Linked DNA regions of Homo sapiens: region 2 is linked to region 1. The links are contacts of gene promoters, found by promoter capture Hi-C in blood cells and fetal thymus (Javierre and others, 2016). All regions are on one chromosome and are shown on one strand. Each heading gives the region's core, a stretch centred on a gene start or on the middle of the fragment in contact. The rest is flanking DNA. Distances are from core to core; before and after follow the strand shown.

Region 1 (7,223 bases), core at 2,653-5,152:
CTCTATGGAAGTCTTGGGTAGGTGGTCTCACACCTGTGGATTCTGCTCTTCTATGTTTGTGCAAGGTTGAACTGGACAGATCCTTACAGAAAGCAGATTCTGGGCTGAGAATAGGCCTTTGGAAAGTGAGTGGGAGGCCGGGTGCGGTGGCCCACACCTGTAACCCCAGCACGTTGAGAGGCCGAGGTGGGTGGATCACCTGAGCTCAGGAGTTCAAGACCAGCCTGGCCAACATGGCAAAAACCCATCTCTACTAAAAATACAAAAATTAGCCAGGCATGGTGGTGTGTGCCTGTAATCCCAGCTACTCGGGAGGCTGAGACAGGAGAATCTCTTGAACCCAGGAGGCAGAGGTTGCAGTGAGCCAAGGTTGTGCCACTGCCCCTCCAGCCTGGGCAACAGAGTGAGACTCCATCTCAAAAAAAAAAAAAAAAAAAGAAAAGAAAGAAAAGAAAATAAGTGGGGACCCAAAAGAAAATAACAAATGGTATCTATAGGCCACCGTGGCTGGAAAAGACCTGAAGGATAAGTTCAATCCATTTTATAGATGAGGAAAAGGAGCTCAAGACAGGAAATGAATGTCCAATAGTCACCAGTAAGCCAGTGGCTGAGCCAGCCCTGCAACCCAGGCCTTCAGGCTCCCAGGCTGGTTCTTTTATGCCACCAGGAAGCCACTGACGTTCTGTCAGCATTTGTTCAAAGCACACGTGTGTATGCACACACACACATGCATGCAGGCAGGTGGCAGGACTATGTTACACACCTCTGGACTCCTCTAAGTACTTAGCACCAGGCTCAGGAAGTCCCAGGCTCTCAGGCAACACTGTCTGAAGGAAGGTGACTCCCTCCAAGTGTCCAGGTGTCTCCAGAACTCCCTCAGGCCTTTGGGTTCTGGGGGTGCCACAGCTGCTGGTGCAGGTCCAGCAGTTAAGAGAGGGGTGATCTGCTGTCCCTGTCCCTTTATCCCATGATTATACACAGGAAAAGGGCTTCCAATCATATTTACCTGGACTCTTCTAGTGTCTTAGATCCCTTCTGCCAGGTGTAAGCCTGTCCCAGGAGATTAAGCCCAACAGGGGTCAGTCATGTTCATCATATTACAGGGCTGGACCCCTCCCATGAGCAAGGCAGGGCCTTGTTGCCCTTCCCTAGCCACTGAACCTTAGTACACTCAAACAGCTTTCTGGAATTTTGGATAATGGGGAAAGGAGTTAGAATCTCCATCCCTTCTCTTTCAGAAGATCCTTGAAATTTTTTTGTTTGTTTGTTTGAGGCAAAGTCTCATTCTGTCACCCAGGCTGGAGTGCAGTGGCGCGATCTTGGCTCACTGCAACCTCCATCTCCCGGGTTCAAGCGATTCTCCTGCCTCAGCCTCCCTAGTTGCTGGGACTACGGGCACATGCCACCACACCCAGCTAATTTTTGTATTTTTAGTAGAGATGAGGTTTCACCATATTGGCCAGGATGGTCTCGATCTCCCGATCTCATGTTCCACCCACCTCGGCCTCCCAAAGTGCTGGGATTACAGGCGTGAGCCACCTCGCTTGGCTGATCCTTGGAATTTTTAATGCAAGTCCCCTTCCACAGATGTTTCACCCTACACACACACTCTCTCTCTCTGTCTCCTACCTCCCCAGGCCTTCTGCCACACCCATTCCACAGACGAGAATGCAGAGACTTGTAGAGATTAAATCACTTGTCTAAGGACTGACTAGTTAGTTGAAGAGTCAGAATTCAAACCTAGATCTGTCCAATGCCAAATTTCTCTTGTTCACCAGGCCACGTTGACCAATGAACAAACGGTGTTGCTGGAGGCGAGTGTGGATGGCTTGAGAACCTTGAGTACAGGGCAGTGCCAGGCTCTTCCCAGAACTGCTTGTGAGTGCCCCCACGCAAGCCATTTTTCCCAGCCACTGTCCCACCCTTGCCAGCCCGGGGGCCGCTGAGGGGGAGCTGGGCACACTGTTCACCGCCTGTCTCCATCCCAGAGGCTCCCGCTGTCCTCTGCCAGAGTGCATTTGTGGCATATCGCCACTGAAACACACTTCCTTGCCACACTCCATTAGACCTTTGCAGTTTGGCTGATGCAATCAGCTCACGTGCAAAAGAAACATTAATTTGTACTCATAAAAAGCGTAGATAAAAATCAATACCATGCAATGAGTGAAAAAGCCATCAGTCTACTTTAAATGGTAGACTCCTGGCATTGAAACGATCTTAGACTGCTCGTCCAGGTCACCCCTTCACCCTGCTCGCCTCCACACACCCACTCCTACGCTCTCACCACACACCCACATACATCCTCACACTCACACTCACTCAGTGCACACTCACACATACCCACTCACCACACACCACACACACACATACCCCAACACACTCACACCTACTGCACACACGCACACCCACCCATTCACCACACACACCACACACCCACACACTGCACACACACACCCACTCACCACACACATACACCCACACACCCACTCACTGCACACTCACACCCACTTACCACACATTTTCTCACACACTCTCATTCTACACACACGAGACATACTCATGCATATACACACCCACTTATACCACACACACCCCTACACCCACTTACACACACCCACTCACACATACACCCACTTACACACACTGCACACCTACACACACGCACTCACCACACACACCCCTACACCCATTCACACATATACCCACTCACACCCCCCACACCCACACGCACGCACTCACCAAACACTCCCCTACACCCACTTACATACCCATTCACACATACACCCACTTACACACGCACTCACCACACACACCGCTACACCCATTCACACATATACCCATTTACACACACACACCCCACACCCACACGCATGCACTCACCAAACACTCCCCTACACCCACTTACACACGCACTCACCACACACACCTTTACACCCACTCACACATACACCCACTTACACACACATCACACATGTGCTCTCACCACACACACTCCTACACTCACATACACACGCCCACTCACATATACACCCTCTTTACATACCACACCCCCACACACGCACTCACCACACACACCCCTACACCCACTCACACATACACCCACACACGCACCCACACACGCACTCACCACACACACACCCTACCCACGCGCGCACACACCCACTCACACATACACCCACTTACACACACAACACACCCCCACACATGCACTCACCACACACCCCCTACAGCCACTCACATTTACACCCACTTACATGCACACCCCCAGATGCACGCACTCAGCACACACACACTCCGTGTGTCTTGCAGCCCTGGTTCCACACCTCCGGAGATGGGAAAATCCCTCCCTTCCAAAGCAGCATCTTTCGTCCTCGGCCAGCCCTGAGTGTGTGAGCGCTCCTCTCCATATTGGGCCCCAATTCATCTCCCTATAGCTTTTCCCCCTTCTAATTCAGGAAGGGTTTAGAAAGTTCATTCATTAAACAAGCAAACAAACACAACAAGACAAAACAACAAATCCACAGCCCTCTTGAAATGCCTCCGGGCGCTGAGAGCCCAGCAGGGGCCTGAGGCTGAAGGCAGGCTCCCAGTCCCTCTGCCTCTGCTCACAGGTATGGGTGTGAGCGTGGACCCCATCCCAGGCCTCACCAACCCAGCCGCCTGCGGGAATCTCTAGAGCTTTCTGAGTGTCCTCGGGGTCCTGAAGGTGCCAACCCTGCAACCTCGGTGGGATTTTGGCCCCGGCAGGGCTCTGTACATGGGAGGAGTTCAGGGTCATTTTGTAATCTTCAGAGGCCTTGCCAAGGCCCTCTCCCGTCCTGTGACCCTGGTGACATTCTGGGACGCTGGGGCCACGTGAGGGGAGGAACCACTGCCTGGAACTTTGATCAGCGCTGGGGCTGGATTGAGCTGACCACAGGCCACACCAGACTCCTCTCTGCTCCTGAGGAAGACAGGGCAGCCCGGCGCCACCCGCTCGGCCCTCACGGTAGGCTCCCGGGGTCGCTGAAGGGCTCCAGGGTCTGCAGGGACGTGGGGGCAGGAACGGGAACTTGCGATCTCCCCCGTTTCAGAGCATTCCGCAGCTCCAGGCAGGCTGCGGTTCTGGGGGGCCCCTGCCCCGGGAGGAGAAGTCCCTGAGGTGCTCAGCTAGGGCGCTGCTGGGAAGAGGCAGGAGGAAGGTGGGGCGGGGGTTTGTGAGATGAAGATCTGCCAGTCCTGGCCTACAAGGCTGGTAGTGAGTAGAGGATAAGCAGGGTGACCAGATGTCCAGGTTGGCCTGGTTCTGCCTAGTTTATACTTGTCATCTTGGCATAATAATAATAAATAGTATTACTAATTACTTATTAATCCTATATTAATACTAAATATTATTAATTATTTATTAATATAATTATTGTTTTTTGAGATGGGGGTCTTGTTATGTTGCTCAGGCTGGTCTTGAACTCCTGGCTTCAAGCGATCCTCCCACTCAGCCTGCTGAGTAGCTGGGATTACAAGCGCATGCCACAGCACCCAGCTCAGGCCCAAGGATGACTAGCTCCTGGTTTCCTTCCCAGAAGCGTGCTGGCTCATATAATAAAGTTTGTGGTGAAATAAACCTGCAGGGGGCCACCTTTTATTGAACATTCAGTATGTGCCAGGCGCTGTGTTAAGGGCTTTCTATTTACTATCTTATTTAGCCTATTTATCATCCAATGGAGTGCTAATTTGAACTCTGAGGGCAGAGGTGATAATTAAGTCTGGAAAACCTGAGGCTTAGAGAGTTGGAGTGATTTGCACAAGCCCACACCGCTAGTAGGTGATGGCGTCAGAATCTGATCCCAGCTGGGGGCACTGGCGGAGCTAAAGTGCTTTCCCCTGCTACTAAGCAGGATGAGAGTAAGGCCTGAGATGCGAAGTCACTGAAAGCCACAAACACATTCCTTCAATTCAGCACACAGGGCCTGACTGCCTTCTCAGTGCCTGGCCCCGAGCCAGGTGCTGGGGTGCAGAGCTGCTTGCAGAGACACCACAGCAAGACTGCAGTACCACGGGCTCAGTCGGGTGGGTGCAACTGACTAGAAAACAGAGCGGAAGAGCCCAAACATTCAACACAGTACAAGAGGGATCCGAGGACCCAAGAAAGGGCCGAGCGCGGTGGCTCACGCCTGTAATCCCAGCACTTTGGGAGGCCGAGGCAGGCGGATCACCTGAGGTCAGGAGTTCGAGACCAGCCTGGCCAACACAGTGAAACCCCATCTCTACTAAAAATACAAAAATTAGCCAGATGTGGTGGCAGGCGCCTGTAATCCCAACTACTCGGGAGGCTGAGGCAGGAGAATCGCTTGAACCCGGGAGGCAGAGGTTGCAGTGAGCAGAGATGGCGTCACTGCACTCCAGCCTGGGAAACAAGAGTGAAACTCTGTCTCAAAAAAAAAAAAAAAAAAAAAAAAAAAAAAAAAAAAAAAAGAAGAGGGTAGTCAGGAAGGCTTCATGGGGGAAGTGTGACTTGCACTGGACTGGGAGGGTGGGTATAAATTGGGAGGGTCGCATAGTGCCCAGTTCACAACGGCCTCTTAGTTCAACCTGTCAGCTGTCTTCTCTTCCAGAAGCTAACACAGAGGATAGACAAGCTCCCTCGGGCCTTTGCAACATCACTGCCAGGAAGGAAAGAGTCAAGTAAGCCCCTACTGTGTGTGTGGAACTGTGCTGTGCATTTTACATGTTTATCTCAATATTTAGAATAAAATAGGTTTCAACCTTACTGCAAAAGTGATATGTTTCTTACTTAAAAATGTGGAACATATATTTTTAAGCAGAAGGAAAAAATTAAAATCATCCACAATTCAATTTTTCAGAGGTAATGACTACAAATTTTTTTCTTTTGAGATGGAGTTTCTCTCTTGTTGCCCAGGCTGGAGTGCAATAGTGCGATCTCGGCTCACTGCAACCTCCGCCTCCCGGGTTCTAGCGATTCTCCTGCCTCAGCCTCCCGAGTAGCTGGGATTACAGGCGCACACCACCACGCCCAGCTAATTTTTGTATTTTTGGTAGAGACGGGGTTTCATCATGTTGGCCAGGCTGGTCTTGAACTCTTGATCTCAGGTGATGCTCCCGCCTCAGCCTCCCAAAGTGCTGGGATTACAGGTGTGAGCCACAGTGCCAGACCCCACCACAAATATTTTGTACATAAGCTTCTATTATGTTTTCTGTGTACAAATACACCTTAAAAATGGAAAAGCAGCATTCTGAGACTTCATATATTTCACTTAAGATATTGCAAACATCTTGTCCATAAATACACATCTATAATAAATTTTCTTTTTGTTTAAAATTTTATCTTTTATTCTATTTTTTTGAGACAAGGTCTCCCCCTTCTCACGCTGGAGTGCAGTAGAGCAATCACCCACTCATTGCAGCCTCGACCTCCCAGTCTCAAGCCGTCCTCCCACCTCAGCCTCTCGAGTAGTTGAGACTACAAGCATGCACCACTATGCTTGGGTAATTTTTATAATTTTTTGAAGAGATGAGATGTTACCATGTTGCCCAGGCTGATTTCAAACTCCTGGCCTCAAGCAATCCTCCTGCCTCTGCCGCCCAAAGTGCTGGGATGACAGGCATGAGCCACTGAACCCAGCCTGTAATATAATTTTAAACATAGCAGAGAGGGTTTCCATTACATCCGAGTAGCATGATTCATGTAACCAATCCCTCATGTTGGACATTTAGGTTGTTTCTATTTTCTTGCTGCGGCCCAATGCCTGTTCTCTCATTTGAGAGTCACAATAGCCCTAACCATGCCGGGACTGAGGTATTATGATGATTATTGTTATCATGGTCGTTCTTGGTTTACAGTCGCAGACTGGGACTCTGAGAGGTGGCTTCACTCCCTGGGACACAACTGGGCAGAGGATGGGGTGGGCTGAACTGGGCAGCGGATGGGGTGGGATGAACTGGGCAGAGGGTGGGGTGGGCTGAACTGGGCAGCGGATGGGGTGGGCTGAACTAGGCAGAGGATGGGGTGGGCTGAACTGGGTGGGGGTGGTGGGCTGAACTGGGCAGCGGGTGGTGTGGGCTGAACTGGGCAGAGGATGGGGTGGGCTGAACTGGGCAGCGGATGGGGTGGGATGAACTGGGCAGTGGGTGGTGTGGGCTGAACTGGGCAGAGGATGGGGTGGGCTGAACTGGGCAGCGGATGGGGTGGGCTGAACTGGGCAGAGGGTGGGGTGGGCTGAACTGGG
Region 2 (7,223 bases), core at 3,808-6,307, 52 kb before region 1:
ACCATCTTGGCCAACGTGGTGAAACCCCGTCTCTACTAAAATACAAAAAATTAGCCGGGCGTGGTGGCGCGTGCCTGTAGTCCCAGCTACTTGGGAGGCTGAGGCAGGAGAATCGCTTGAACCCGGGAGACAGTGGTTGCAGTGAGCTTAGATCACGCCACTGCACTCCAGCCTGGCGACAGAGCAAGACTCCGTCTCAAAAAAAAAAAAAAAAAGGTGACAGCTTTCGAATTGATTTAGGAACAGTGGTTTTTTTCCCACAATTAGATTGACAAATGACACCTTGGGAGAAAAGTAAGATCCAAGTAGTAAACTGTCATCTCAGATGAAATATTACGTTTGTTGTGTGCCTATACTGGAAAGGCATTATCTGTTATTTTGGATCACTTGAAGAATCCTATACATAGTGACTTCTGTACCTTAATGCTAAATATTTTCCTGTGGACTTTTTTTTTAAGGTGATGCTGATATAACTCTCTTTAGTTATGACAGTAAAAAGGCTACTAGGCGAGTAATCTTCAGACTTTCCCCGTCCCCACCCCAGAATGCCACGTAGCTTACTTTTGTCCACCTTTTTTGCCTTTAAATTCTTGGTAGCAGTGCAGCTGATTGTGTTTTGTTGACAGGCTTAAGCTAGCAGACCTTTAACATTGAGAGCGGTGAGTCACGTTTACCGTGCTCTCAGCGGGGCCAGGGAGGAGAGGGAGAGAGTGGTAGGTTCCTGATGGTTGTTTCAACTGGATGAGAAAGAGCTACCAAGTTAATATGAAAAAGCTTTAAGAGCTTTAATTTTAAAGTATTTTTGCTCTTCTCCATTGGCCAATTTAGAAACATGTTTCAAAATACATCTATAGCTAACTTGCCTTTTTAAATCATGAGGCATTTTGGGTAACATTAGAATATGTAGCTCAGTTATGTTCTACTCTACCTTGTGAGATTACTGCATTTAGAGCTAGTTGTAGCCTGGTTTATATGTTGATTGGCAAAACAAAATGACCTGGAATTTAAATTTCATTTTGGAGAAGCAACAGCCAAAATCATTACGAAGTGGCTGTTCTTTAGAAGTAAATATAACTACTACGAGTCCTGGTGTAGTCATTTATATTTATTTCAAATTTCAATTGAGACAAATTCTGAGGGCCCTTTTCAGCCCTCTATTGAGTTTACATTTCTATGCATTAACCAGGGACTCTGCTTTCTTGTTCTCCAAGGATCATTTATCTAAGGCCAAATTCACTAAAAACATCAGGATTGATCAGAAGGATTTCAGTGACAGCAGAGCTTTTTGCAATGAAATAATACTAAGCAATAGTACTTGTTTTATACCCCTTTCCAGTCGTGGAGCACCGACGGAAACCATCATTATAAAACAGTATTGTTTTTTATATTAGTAAGGATGAGGTTTTAAAAGACGTAATTGACATTAAACATGATTGAAGCCCTAATTTTGACCAAACGATATTTACTTCATGTTTTGAGAGATGATATTAACAGTAACAAGGATACTTGTACACAGCTTTCTTCCAAAAATGATCATGCGGCTAAGTTGCCAGGAGCAATAGTACCAAAAGATAGTTTGGGACAGAATGTGAAGATTTTCAAATTAAATATTAAAAATGTTTTCTCTTTCTGAATGGCTTAAAGTTCTTAATACATTAGATATTCTGTGGTAAAGAATCCATATCTGCAAGTTATTTAAAAGGTATTAGTACACAAGAGTATAGGTATATAAAACTAAATGAAGTCAATCATATTGATTATCCCCCCAAAAAAAATATAATCTAAAGAATAATCAGTTCCTAAATAATTGAAAGCTGCCCTTACAAAATAAAACAAAAGAACACACATTTCGTTGTGTTGCCCAGGCTGGTCTCGAACTCCTGGGCTCAAGCAGTCCTCCCACCTCGACCTCCCAAGATGCTGGGATTTCGGACATGAGCCACCACGCCCGGCCAAAGCTGCCTTTTTTTAACATGGATTTTTTTTTCCCCCATTCGTTGTGCTCAGAAGTCATTTCCTCTTATTTTTCTCTGCTAATGTGTGCTTTAACAAACCTGTTTAAAACGACAAGCCTTTAATCAACTGGGGTGTTTTGTTTTGTTTTTTTCTTATTTTCTTAGGAGTCAGTGGATCGGTGGGGAAAATGCTGCTTACCCTGGGCCCTGGGCTGTAGAAAGAAGACACCAAAGGCAAAGTACATGTATCTGGCGCAGGAGCTCTTGGTTGATCCAGAATGGCCACCAAAACCTCAGACAACCACAGAAGCTAAAGCTTTAGTTAAGGAGAATGGATCATGTCAAATCATCACCATAACATAGCAGTGAATCAGTCTCAGTGGTATTGCTGATAGCAGTATTCAGGAATATGTGATTTTAGGAGTTTCTGATCCTGTGTGTCAGAATGGCACTAGTTCAGTTTATGTCCCTTCTGATATAGTAGCTTATTTGACAGCTTTGCTCTTCCTTAAAATAAAAACAGAAAAATATATCGTCCTAACAGTTAAATTAACAATCAATCCATAAAGTCCTATATCTTCATTCAGCAACCCAAATATTACATACATTTCCAGAATTTTCTTGATTGTTACTTTCAGTGATATTCTTTATATTGGGTACAGGAGAAGTTTGGTGTTTGGTAGGTTTTTCAACATTAGTTTTTGAGACTAGTTTACCTCTTCACATTTATGCTCACAACCCTCTTGTTAGAAAAGTCTGTGTTTATATACAGGCTGTAAGTTTGTGATTGATAAAAAGAAGATGAGTGTTAATTAGCCTCCAGTGAAAATATACTGAAAGCCTGTTTTCATTTGATTCCAATGTTTCTTCCAAAGAATTCTGTATAAACATATGCCAATTCCCTATGATGGTCTAGAGTTAGGAATGAGTGTTTATGGTGTTGCTTATAGAACAACTCAGGTAATCTCCATTTCTGGTTTTATATTTTCTGTACAAACTGCCTGGGTTTTATTTTTCTAATCAGCAAGGTGCTTCACTGCCTTCTTGAGACGCCTCTCAAAGCTCTTAAATGGCTCCTGTGCTATGTGTGGTGTTGGCAGTCTAATTTGCTTCTGTTAAATGTTGTAGAACCTTTTTCACTAGGAAATAAGATTCATTTCTTTCGGCAGTAGATGTAGATTCATCTTTTAACGTTTCTTCAAATTTGTTTCTGTCAGGCTTTGTGTTATTTTAAATGGTTTTTTAAAATTTTCTTCTATGTTTTCAATTACCTAAAGACATAGGATAATAGTTTTTTTTAAGTTAGAATTTTACCTCATAAAATTTTTTGAGGTTTGATGTATGTCTCTGTCTTATCAATAATGAGGCTTAAAAAATACTGGATTTGAATGGCTGCCGTTTTTTCAAAGCAATATGAATTTGATGAGTTTGTTTTATGCCATTAGGTGGCGCCAGAGGTCAGAACATGTCTATTTTGAATTGGATCGTTACAAATGAGCATATTTGATGCGGAAATTTCTGGGAGAAAAAAAATTGAGGAAATAAAGTTAAAAAATTGACATTCATTGAGCCAAAAGAGATGTGGAGAAACATTTTTCACCTTTCTGTTTGGCCTGATTAACATTTAAATTCTTGCCAAAATTAAGGTAACTTTTAAAAAACACCTTTTATAGGTGGATCCAGCAGTCTGGCAACGCCCACAGTTACCACAACACAGAAAACTGATCGTGCTATAAAATGGACGCTAAACTATGAAAACAGTGTGACATTGTTCTCTGTTCTTCCAGAGCCAGTAACATGCTTGCTCGTGCTTTCTACTTCTAGCTGATCATTCTTTTCCCAACATATATTTACAAATTTACCAAATTTTACCTAGAATTTTAGGACCAAATGGTTCTCACTCTTTATGCTGCAAAGACCTGGATGATGTTTGGTAACTATAGAAAAATAGAAATTACACTCAGGATCACTGTTACTGCTATTGCCACTGATGATTCCTGCAAAAATATAATCGAAGTTTTCCATCAAATGTATAATATGCTATTAATACACATTAGATGATAACAGTTGTTCCATGAATGATTCTATGAAGCTATGCATCTTAGACCTCTTGAGCTGTGAATTAGCACTATTTTCTATAGTTACTTATTCTCTGGATCATTTTATAATTTCCATATTAATTTCAAATATGCTCGTGTTATTCTTCAGTGATTTCCACAATTGTGCATTTTATTCTTTGGTTTAAGTACTGAAGCATATAATGAAAGTAATTGCTAAGTAGCAGCTTAAAAATTCAATTATCCGATTGTATTTAACATCTTTAAGAGCATGATCATAAAGAGCTATTTTTGACACCCCCCCCCCACTTTTTTAACATTTAGAGTTAGTAAGGGTTTTATATCTCTTCTGTCCATATTGTTTTCAAAGGAATGAGGTGTTTAGGTGGCTGGAAAAGCATTTGTAGGAAGTTAGATTTGAATATAGACAAGGTGGGTTATTCACGTTGAGAATGTTATTTGAAGAATGCCTGTGAAGCCAGGTGTGGGTTCTACTCAGTGCCATAGATAGACTGAGTCTTCTCTCGTAGGTTACCATTACATAGTAATTTTGATTCTGAATTTCACATTAAATTATTTGAGTTTATACAGACCTAAATTTTAAAATCTGTACATATATTATTTTGATGTATTAAGATGAATATTGCTGATTTAAATTTTATTTATGCACATACTTAAAGGACAGAAATGTCTGGGAAAGTAATTGTTAAATAATGATATGTAACTTTTTAACTTTTTAAATAAATAACAAGATTTTTAATGTGTGTCTCCCTCAGGGTTGTTTAAAGTTTTTTTTCTCCCTCAAGTATAAATAGTGGTAACTATATGTTTTGTATCTTCTAGCACCAACTGCTGTAAAGCAATGCTGCAAATAATGCTTGAATACAAGTGGCTAAGCCAACAACAGAATAAATACTTTTATAGTAGTTTTATAATCCTGAAATTCGAAAGCTTTCCCAATTGCACTTGCATCTAAACAAAACTGTTGCAGTTTTTACTCTATTTATTTTGTTCCCCATGTTTATGAAAGTCCTGCACAGTTTCAAAGGCATGGTAAATAATATATCAATGTTTATGTAGTCTGTTACAGAAACAGCTATAGATAACATTATCCAGTGAAGAGCAAAATTCAAGCTTTAGAAAATATTCATGCATGCAATTTTGACATATCTAAAAATAGGTTTTTGTATATTTATGGTGGGAGGTGGTTGGGAACTTTTAACAAAATGGGGTGTTAATTTTTGTACAGTCTGTGGGCATTTACACATTTTTAATGTATTAAAATTTGGTAATTATGTGTACATTAAATTAATAAAAGTTACTTCTAGTTATGATTTGTGAATTCCCTAAGACCTTGGATTTTTTTAAGTAACTTTATATCAGAAATGATACTGCATCTTTATATTTTTAAAATTGTATTGCTGCTCAAGAATGGTACCCTCTTGTCAAAAAGGCATACATTCATAATTGTACATTCAGCATTGTAAATAATCTTATGAAACCTTTTTTGATTGAAGCTATTCAAAATAAAAATTTTAATGAATGAAATAACACTTTTTTTCTGTGTCTTTATTCATTTGTTTGCTTTTTAGTGACATGAATACTGCCCTTTGTGGATTTATTTTCCTGCCTAATAATACTTCCCCATTTCCTTCTTTTTTTTTTTTAAAAAAAACTGGATTTTGAAGGAAATAAGAACAACATTCTGCATATCATGCCATGTGTGTGAGCATCCTGGGGAAACCCCACAGTCGGATGCAGTGTAGAGCCAAATGTTAAATGCGAGGAGGTCTGAGGGCAATGGTGAAATGAAATAGAAGAGTAGGGACTTATAATCTATTAATAGTTGGGAGAATCAAACCAAAAGCTAATACCATGGAGAGAGAAAATGGTTGTAAAAATCCCAGAGAAGACAGGACCTTTGTGTGTGGGTGGGAGTTGTTTCCATGGAGCTCAGCTCCGGGAGACACGGAGCCCCTGCTAGGGAATATGTGGCTGGCTGTGGTGTGATGAATTCGGGGGGTGAGGGCCTGCCTGCCTTTAGCTCAAGTTCTTAACAGTCGCTATGGTTTGTGCGGCATGTGTGATCCTGTCCCCACAGCCTGCTGGTGTGGGCACAGTTCTGCATGTCTCTCCTTCCGCTGTATCACTGCCAAGGGACAGGGAGTCCTAGGGGCTTGAGTGAGACTGTCCGTGGTCCAAGTTGGGGTGTGGTTGCTCCCTGCTGTGCCCGGCCCACTGAGTCTCCCTCAGAGGAAAAAGGCTTATCTCACCCAGGCACAGACCTGCTTTTGAATAGCCAAGCCCCTTAAGCCAGGTAACTGTTTTACAGCAGACTTCTGACCTGGTAATGGATACAGAATCTTAAGACTTGGAAGCACTGGAGCTGTCAACTTCCTTGCTCCAAATACTTCTCATTACCTCATCAACTTGCTCAGTGGATGGACTAAGAGTGTTCCCCCACTCTGCAACTGCCATACCTACTTTTCCCTTCCTGGACAATCAAAGTGTCTTCCTAAGGGACAAAATGTAGAGGCCATTCTGACTGGAGGTTTTCCTGGGGAAATAGGCTAAAGAAGGGCCACAGGAATTTGAGCCATCGGCATCTTACTCTGTTTCACAGCTCGCCTTCCCAGTCTGTCATGTTGGCTCCCTGGCAATTTCATGGGCAAGGGGGCGGGGAGGCTTTCACTCGATGTGCCTATGCATGACGGACTTACCAGGTCACCAGTGTAGCAGTTCAGGGCTCTGGAGTTGCATTCCTTGATCGGAACTGAAAGACCTCCCGCGATACCTGGCAGAGGCAGTGGCTCTTCCCTGTGGTCCAGGGCTGCGTGACTTTGAAGGTAATTTCAGTCAACCCAGCCTTTACTGGGCTCTGACTGCATTAGGCTGCATCAAAGGGGATTGGATCCCATGATTCTTTATATCTTCTGACATTAAGCCTTTGTCAGCTATAGGTGTTACAAATATCTTTAGTTTGTGGTTTATCTTTTCCCCTTTTTTATGGTGTCTTGAAGGATAGAAGTCTTTTTTTTTTTTTTTTTTTTTTTTATTGATCATTCTTGGGTGTTTCTCGCAGAGGGGGATTTGGCAGGGTCATAGGACAACAGTGGAGGGAAGGTCAGCAGATAAACAAGTGAACAAAGGTCTCTGGTTTTCCTAGGCAGAGGACCCTGCGGCCTTCCGCAGTGTTTGTGTCCCTGGGTAC

Evidence for each region. The method cuts DNA at HindIII sites, captures the fragments that hold promoters and counts their contacts. A CHiCAGO score of 5 or more calls a contact.
Region 2: a fragment that was not itself captured here is called in contact with the fragment with the promoter of CPN2 in region 1 in 2 of 17 cell types (megakaryocytes and naive CD4 T cells); the score reaches 6.0 in megakaryocytes.

The regions. Positions count from the first base shown.
Region 1 is chr3:194,348,007-194,355,229 of GRCh38, reverse strand. It overlaps CPN2 (carboxypeptidase N subunit 2), which reads left to right and starts at 3,902. Exons shown (of 2, transcript NM_001080513.4): 1 at 3,902-3,988. RefSeq lists an enhancer at 3,577-4,426. The HindIII fragment of the contact is 6,903 bases long and covers 1-6,178 here.
Region 2 is chr3:194,401,014-194,408,236 of GRCh38, reverse strand. ATP13A3 (ATPase 13A3) reads left to right here. Exons shown (of 34, transcript NM_001367549.1): 34 at 2,121-5,560. The coding sequence ends at 2,318. Among named protein-coding and RNA genes, the nearest start is that of GP5, 5.4 kb to the right of the region's middle. RefSeq lists an enhancer at 7,035-7,223. The HindIII fragment of the contact is 183 bases long and covers 4,966-5,148 here.